2 separate regions of the Homo sapiens genome follow, and region 1 is linked to region 2. The links are contacts of gene promoters, found by promoter capture Hi-C in blood cells and fetal thymus (Javierre and others, 2016). All regions are on one chromosome and are shown on one strand. Each heading gives the region's core, a stretch centred on a gene start or on the middle of the fragment in contact. The rest is flanking DNA. Distances are from core to core; before and after follow the strand shown. Region 1 overlaps TNPO2 (transportin 2). Region 2 holds the start of MAST1 (microtubule associated serine/threonine kinase 1).

What was found. Contacts are between HindIII fragments. The CHiCAGO score rates a contact against its expected background, and 5 or more counts as called.
Region 1: a fragment that was not itself captured here is called in contact with the fragment with the promoter of MAST1 in region 2 in 1 of 17 cell types (erythroblasts); the score reaches 7.1 in erythroblasts.

What each region holds. Positions count from the first base shown.
Region 1 is chr19:12,699,756-12,703,694 of GRCh38, reverse strand. TNPO2 (transportin 2) reads left to right here. Exons shown (of 26, transcript NM_001382241.1): 20 at 169-267; 21 at 777-872; 22 at 1,518-1,623; 23 at 1,844-1,943; 24 at 2,023-2,097; 25 at 2,242-2,369; 26 at 2,452-3,939. The coding sequence ends at 2,349. It overlaps SNORD135 (small nucleolar RNA, C/D box 135), which reads left to right and starts at 24; the gene lies at 24-98. RefSeq lists enhancers at 1-250, 251-860, 1,471-2,080, 1,358-2,557. The HindIII fragment of the contact is 1,590 bases long and covers 1,405-2,994 here.
Region 2 is chr19:12,837,141-12,840,821 of GRCh38, reverse strand. It overlaps MAST1 (microtubule associated serine/threonine kinase 1), which reads right to left and starts at 2,307. Exons shown (of 26, transcript NM_014975.3): 1 at 2,167-2,307; 2 at 288-376. The coding sequence starts at 2,249. RefSeq lists an enhancer at 261-320 and silencers at 2,227-2,276, 2,327-2,506, 2,511-2,694. The HindIII fragment of the contact is 9,607 bases long and covers 1-3,356 here.

The DNA.
Region 1 (3,939 bases), core at 950-3,449, 140 kb after region 2:
CCTAACCCATGACCCCAGCCCCGGCCTCAAGTGATGGAGAGCAATACCCGGGGATGACTGTGACCACATTGGGATGTATTCGTACTGTCTGATGGGGCCTGCTGGACTAGGTCCTGCAGCTTACCCTGGCTGGCCCTCCTTCTCAGCACCCCTGTTTCTCCCCACCAGCCGAGTTCATGCCCATTCTGGGCACCAACCTGAACCCAGAGTTCATCTCCGTCTGCAACAACGCCACCTGGGCCATTGGTGAAATCTGCATGCAGATGGGTGAGTGCCCTGCAAGTGGCAACACGCGCCCCCCATTAGCCTGTTCTCAACCTGGGGGCGGGAGCCTAGCTCTGACTGACAGCTTCCTTCAAGGCAAGTCTCTTGGGGGTCGTCAGGGGTGGAGCCAAGCAGAAAGGTCATTTGTGATTGGCTTCTCTAAAGAGGAGGGATAGGAGGGCTGTTCTGATTGGACCGTTTTGTGTAGTTGGCTAAAAGACTCATTCGGATTGGTTGGGTGACTTTGGCTTTTTTTTTCCTTTGACTTGGGCAGCGTGTTGTCACCTTAGCGACTCCAGAGAAGCCTCTGTTGTTTGGAGGGTGTGGGTCTGTCCCTGGTTGGCCAGGGATTCTGGGTGGGGATTAGCCGGAGAAGGTCTTTTGTTTCCTCACTGGTAGTGGTTGGCCAGTCTCTAGTTGGAACTGGGGCGAGTAGTGAGTGAGGTGGGGCGGCCCCCTGGCCCCTGTGGGTGGCGGGGGCTGTGCAGGGCTCTGACTGGGTGCTCCCCCAGGGGCAGAGATGCAGCCTTATGTGCAGATGGTCCTCAACAACCTGGTGGAAATCATTAACCGACCCAACACACCCAAGACACTGCTGGAAAACACAGGTGGGCACCTGGCCCGGCTGCTGCCTGCACCCCTGCCTGCCTTCTGGAGGTGGGGTTCTGGGCTGGGAAGGGCATCAGAAAGAGCCTTGTCAAGGAACCAAGGAGGGTGTCTGGAAGTACCTGGAAGGGGTCACTGGGAGAAGCCCCAAGAAAGATGCAGCCTCAGGCTGGGTGCAGTGGCTCATGCCTGTAATCTCAGCACTTTGGGAGGCAGATCACCTGAAGTCAGGAGTTCGAGACCAGCCTGGCCAACATGGTGAAACCCCATCTCTACTAAAAAATACAAAAATTAGCCGGGGGTAATGGCACGTGCCTGCAATCCCAGCTACTCGGGAGGCTGAGGCAGGTTGCAATGAGCCAAGATCATGCCACTGCACTCCAGCCTGGGCAACAGAGCAAGACTCCATCTCAAAAACAAAACAAAACAAAAAAAAACAAAAAGGAAAGGGAAAGGAAAGAAAGAAAGATAGATGCAGAGAGACCTGGGAAGTGACTCAGGTGTGATGAGGAGGACCCCTGGCTGGGCCAAGCTTGGGGGACCAGGGTGGCTGCAGTAGCCATTCCCTTGGGGCTCATGGGGCGGGGCTTGGTGCCTTGTGCCAGAGGCCCCGCCACGTACCGTCCCGGGGCCGCTCGGGGTTGCAGGTCGCCTGACGAGTCCCTCTGCCATTCCAGCCATCACCATCGGCCGCTTGGGCTACGTGTGCCCCCAGGAGGTGGCACCCATGCTGCAGCAGTTCATCCGGCCTTGGTGTGTGTCCACGTGTCAAGCCTGCTGTGTGGTGGGCGGGACTGGCCCAACCCCCTCCCTCGCCTGTGCATTTCCAGCCCCATCTGCCTACTGACTCCCTGCCCTGCCCCACCCCCACAGATGCATGTCCCAGGCCCACTCACTGATCCCCAGTGACCCAGCCCTCCACAGATGCATGCCCAGCCTGCCCTCTGACCTCCAGCTGCTCACCTTCCCACAGGTGCACGTCCCTCAGGAACATCAGGGACAACGAGGAGAAGGACTCAGCCTTCCGCGGCATCTGCATGATGATCGGTGTCAACCCGGGGGGCGTTGTGCAGGTTGGGGCAGCTGGGCTCTGAGGGCAGGCGCGGGCGCTGGGCTCGGGCGGCCCCTCACCTGGGATCCGTCACGTTTCAGGACTTTATTTTCTTCTGCGATGCTGTAGCCTCCTGGGTGAGCCCGAAGGATGACCTTCGGGACATGTTTTATAAGGTGAGGCTCTGTCTGGGCCCTGATCTAGTTCCGGGAGCAGGCAGGGGTGAGACCATCTGGTAACAATGGGGCCTGGGGATGGGGGAAGAGGCGCACTCCCCTTGTTCTGCCCCTGCCTACCCCTCACCACCACCCTCCCCACAGATTCTCCACGGCTTCAAAGACCAAGTTGGGGAAGATAACTGGCAGCAGTTCTCTGAGCAATTCCCGCCGCTGCTCAAGGAGAGGCTGGCGGCTTTCTATGGGGTCTAGGTGATCATGGAGACTGCCAGGTAAGGAGACTGCAGCTGGCAAGTCAGCACTGTCTTGGGGGCCGAAAGGTCCCAGGCCATGACCTTCCTCCTCCCCCTGCAGGTTTCTGTCTGCGTCGTCGTCGGAGGGATTACTGGGGAGTGCGCTGCATCCGGAAGTCGCTGTGCCCTGGTTGAGGGGGGTTAGGGAGGAGTGAGTGGGACTCAAATCCAGATGCCTTCCCCGTCCGTCCGTCCGTCCGTCCATCCGTCCACTTGCCCTCCTGGCAGGTGGGTGGGGCCACCATGCTCATCCTACAAACGGGGAGGTGGGGGGGACTTCTGGTGGGCAAGGGCCCCTGGGCTCTAATAGGGTCATCTCTGGCAGCCCACTTGGGCCAGCTACGTGGGAGGGAGGAATTACACAGCTGACCGAATCCGGCTTCGGATGAGGTGAGGGAGGAGCAGGTCAGGAGGGGGGCCCTCGTAGGGACGCGTACACTCACACGGACACACATGGCCACACGCATGTGCGGGTGCCATAACCGGCGAGGCTGGGCCAGCCGCTCCACCATTTCCCCGACTGCATGGAGACAGTAGAATTAGTGAACCCCTGAGTTAACCCGTAAGGCCTTCCGTGTAACCTGCATCTAGAGTTTAAGAAGCTTCTGCTGTTTTGCCGGAATTGGCGGTGACTGGGGAGGGCTGGGTGGGTGGGGGGCCTCAGGCGGGATCTCGGGGCGGGGGGAGGAGGATGGTGACCTTGGGAGTCGCCCTGTCAGCACGCACATGCTTGGGACCCACTCCACACACTCCCTGCCAGCTTTGTTGCAGCCTCAGCTGGTGGTGTCTCCGTCCTTATCCTAGCCTAGCTCGCAGGGTGAGAACCACTGGAGTGGCTGGGGCTGGCCAGAGGTCACCGTTTCTCCTTCCTGTGTGCTCCAGTGGCTTTTGAAGACACTGGGTTGGGACCTTTTTCCTGAAGAGAGCTGGGTGTAGCCAGAGCTACTGGCACCTACCCCGAGCATCTCTCTCTGTAAGCAGCTTCAGGGGCAGTCCGTTTCTCTGTGCTTCTGAAACCCCCTTCTCACGTTTCAGGCCCCAGTTTTAACTCAAGGCCTGGGGCAGGGGCGTTTAATTGATGATGACAGAGGACACAGGTTTTTGCCAGCAAAAAGGAAAACCAAGGCTTGGTGGAAGGGAAAGGTGGTGTGTCCCCTGTTCCCTATTCCATCTCCCTGGGACTTCCTGCTCATCATAGTACCCAGTGAGCCCAGAGATCCTACTAGACTGGGTCAGCAATTCTAGAGAACCTTCCGGAATAGTCTGGGAACATGGTCAAGGTGGAAGGGGCTCCCCTAGAGAGGGTGGGGGTGTAGTTACTTCCCAGTTGGCCAGAAAACTGGGCCTTGCAGACCCCCTTAGCATTTTTTCCCTTTTTTTCCTTCCCTGCTTTCTACTTCTTTGGGGAGCCCCTTGTGTTTTGGAGTCTGACTGGAGTCTCGCATCCTGGGGCCTGCTCCATCCATCCCTCCTGGGCGCCAGACCCTCCATCCAAGCCCTGTGTCTTTCCATAGTCAGGGTCAGGCCCTGCATCTATTCCAAGGGGCAC
Region 2 (3,681 bases), core at 1,058-3,557:
CCCTTCCAAGACGATTCTGGCTTCATCTGGGATGGCCCCGCCCCTCAGGTACGACTCCTCCTTTCTGTCCGTCCCACCTGAGTCTCCGCCCACCTGAGTCTCCGCCCCCCAATGACCGTCCCTCTGCGACTGACCACACCCACACAAGCATGGCCCCGCCCCTTATCCAAACTGGTTCGCCTCCATTCAAACTGCGCCCCTTCTGTAGCATGACCACGCTTCCTCGCCTGAGGCCCCGCCTACTGTAGGCCAGTCTGCACCCACCAAGTCTCTACCACTGGCCTCACCTAGGTGACCTGGCAGCGGGGAGTGGGGTCTCGGTAGCGTGGGTGAAGTGCTGGTCAGGATGAGGCTTTTCCGATTACTGGTGCGGCAGCTGCGGGGAAGGTAAGGCAGGGGGGCCGGGCCGGGCCGCAGCCCAGTGAGTTCTTGAGCCCCACCAGCTGACCTCCTGTCTCAGATCCCCGCCTATCTCCCATCCATGTGTGTTTGGAGGCTCCCTGGGAGGGTTTCTCGAAGAAAGGTGGTGCAGGCCTCGGCAGGACTGTGTACGGCAGGGGATGTGCATATGACATGTGTGTGAGAAACTCTCAGTATGGATTATGTGTAGGGCAGTGTCTGTCATGGTGTGATAGTCACTGTGTCTAGGTGACACCATTGGTGATACTGAGCGTGTCTCAGTCTATGCGTGACATTCACTGTAGGTATCCACGTGTGGTATCCACTGTATGAATTCAACAATGTGTGACGCTGAATGCATTCTAGTGTGATACGTGTGACACAACGTGGGTTTATCTTGTGTGATACAATTTGAGCATTTGTGTGTCTATGTGACACAGTGTGAAATGCCACTTGTCCATAACAATGTGTGCTGTAACACAGGCAGGTTGTATTATTATTATTTTTTTTCTTTTAAATCAATGTCTCGCTCTGTCGCCCGGCTGGAGTGCAGTGTGCAGTGGCTCACTGCAGCCTCAAACTCCTGGGCTCAAGCAATCCTCCCGCCTCACCTCACCCTCCTGAGTAGCTGGGACTACAGGTGCCTGCCACCATGCCTGGCCAGGATGCATGATCCCCCCTACATGTATCTATGTCTTTGTGTGGCATTCTGAGTCTGTGTCCGATACTGTCCTTCCGTCTGGGTGTGACATTCACCATGCTTGTCCATGTGTATGTAGCATCTATTGTGTGAATTTAACATCTTGTGACACTGTGTCCAAACATGTCACCACATTTGACATTCTCTAGGTGAGTCTTGCAATGTGATAACATGTGATTTTGCGTGGTTCTGTCTCTGCAAGATCCCTACATCTGTTTATCCTGATGTCAGTGTGACATAGTATGTGAGATACCTAGATATGACATCGTGTGTTGTGACATTCTTGGATGCATGGATGGGATATTGAAACACATGTTTGCATCTTGGATGACATAACTGTGTGTGTGTGGATCGCCATGTAAGTGACATCTTACTAGGTGTACACGACGTGGTGCCCCTGTGTGTCTGTGCATGGTTCTGACCTGTGGCAGCTGCAAGGCTAGGTATGTGTGGCACCTCCCAGTGTATCTGGGCCACTAGGGCTGTTGTGTGTATGTGTGTGACATCATGTCCTGTGTGACGCTGTGTGTCACTATTTTCAGTGTAAGGCTGTGTTCGGGGGGGGGGGTTGTGTTATGATAAACCCCCCCTTTTTTCTACCCCTCAGCATCCAGCTCCCGAAGAGGGAGCCCCAAGCCCCTCCGTCCGTCCCCTCACCCACAGCCGCAGTGACTGAGCATATTAGCGCGTCCAGGAGCACGCGGCATGGGGGTGGGGGGAGGCCAGGCTGCGGCTATTGTTCTGAGGGTGCCAAGCCCCCCAGCCTCCCCTTCTTCCTCTACCCCCACCAGGCTGTTGGAGCCCGCAGCGCCAGCAGACAAAGGCGCCACAAACCCCCAGTGGCGCAGCCCCCTCCCCCCGCGGCCGTCCTCTCCAGCGTGCAAGCCCCCCAGACTCGGCCCACACCACCCCCCATTCAACCCCAACCCCGGCGGGAAGGCGCAGCTGGGGCACCTCTGGCGCAGCTGGACCGGGCGCAGCATCCCGGGCCCCGCCCTGCAGCAGTACCCGGAGCGGCGGCTTTTGCGGGGAGGGCCGGGACAATGTCTAGGGGATCGGGGGTCTACCTCTTGGTGCGGCGGAACATACTGCCGCCGGGGAAGGAGGGCATCGAGAAATTAGAAAGCGCGGTCCAGAGAGAGTCAGACATGACCCGGCGGCGGCGACATGGTGGCAGGTGCGGCAGCAGCGGCGGAGGCGGCGGCGGCGGCGGCGCGGGGAGCAAGCGCGCGGGGCGGAGGCTGCAGCCGCCGCAGCGGGCAGGGGAGGGCAGGGAAGGGGAGGGCCCTGCGGCTGCAGCCGGCCGGGAGGGGGCGCTGCTGCGTGCCGGCGAGCCAGGCCCCGCCCGCGCACTCGCCTGGCGCCCCCACCCCGGCGGGAGAAGGGGCGGCCAGCCCCCGCCACGTCTCTCCCCAGGCTCACCTGCTGCTTTTCCGGGGCAGGGGCAAATCCTTCTGGAAGGCAAAGGGGCAAAACGATGAAGGTCAGCGTGGACCTGCCGTTGCTGCCCACAAGCATTATCAACTCCCTGGAGGAGCAGAAGCAGGGTAAGACAGGCCCCTCTTCAGCACTGTCACTTTCACCCTTGGCCATGCACTGCGGGCCAAGTTTCTTGGGGGAGAGGATCCCTGGGTGATTCCTCTCCTGACCCTCAGAGACCAACAGAGGCCCACGTACACAGGCGGGGCGCCATATAAAGGCAAGTGAGTTGGCATATCAGCGTGTGTTTGTGCAAATGAAATAGGAATCATTATTTGAAAAATATGTCTTGAGCACCTACTGTATGCTGACCCAATCCTAGGCACTAGGGACACAGTAGTGAATAAATTACAAGTCCGGTGTGGTGGTGTGCACCTCTAGTCCCAGCTACTTGGGAGGTTGAGGCAGGAGAATCGCTTGAGTCCAAGGAAACACCAGCGTGGGCAACACAGCAAGACTCTCTGTCTCAAGGAGAAAAAAAAAAAAGTTTCTGGCCTTTTGGGACTAGTATTTATAGGGTAAAGGGGACATTAAACAAGATTAGTGTAGAAGTGAACGAAATCATTTTAGACAATAATTAGTCTTATGAATAAATTAAACAGGGTGATGTGATGGACAATGGCTAGGATGGAGACACATTGTCAGACAGGGCTGCTCTGTGGAGGTGACTTTTAAGCTGGTTGCTGAAAGATAAGAGCCAGCCATGGGAGGATCTGTGGAGAGAGCATTCCAGGTGGAGGGAACTGCAAGGGCAAAGGCCTGGAGGCGGGAATAAGCTTAGCGTACTCAATGAATGAATGAAAGGTTGAATGAATGAAAGGTTGAAAGAATGAATGACTCATCTACACCTCAGCAGATCTATCTGACTCCCAGCTAGAGTCATAGAGTTGGGGTAGGGGGTGGGGGGTAGGTAAGTAGAGTGACTCACAACTGAGATTTAAAATGGGAACCACGGAGGCTGAGGTGGGAGAATCTCTTGAGCTCAGGAGGTCGAGGTTATAGTGAACTATGATTGCACCACTGCTGGAGTAAGACACCCTCTCAATTAACAATAAATAAATAAATAATAAAAAGTTTAAAAAATAAAAAAATAAAAATGGAAA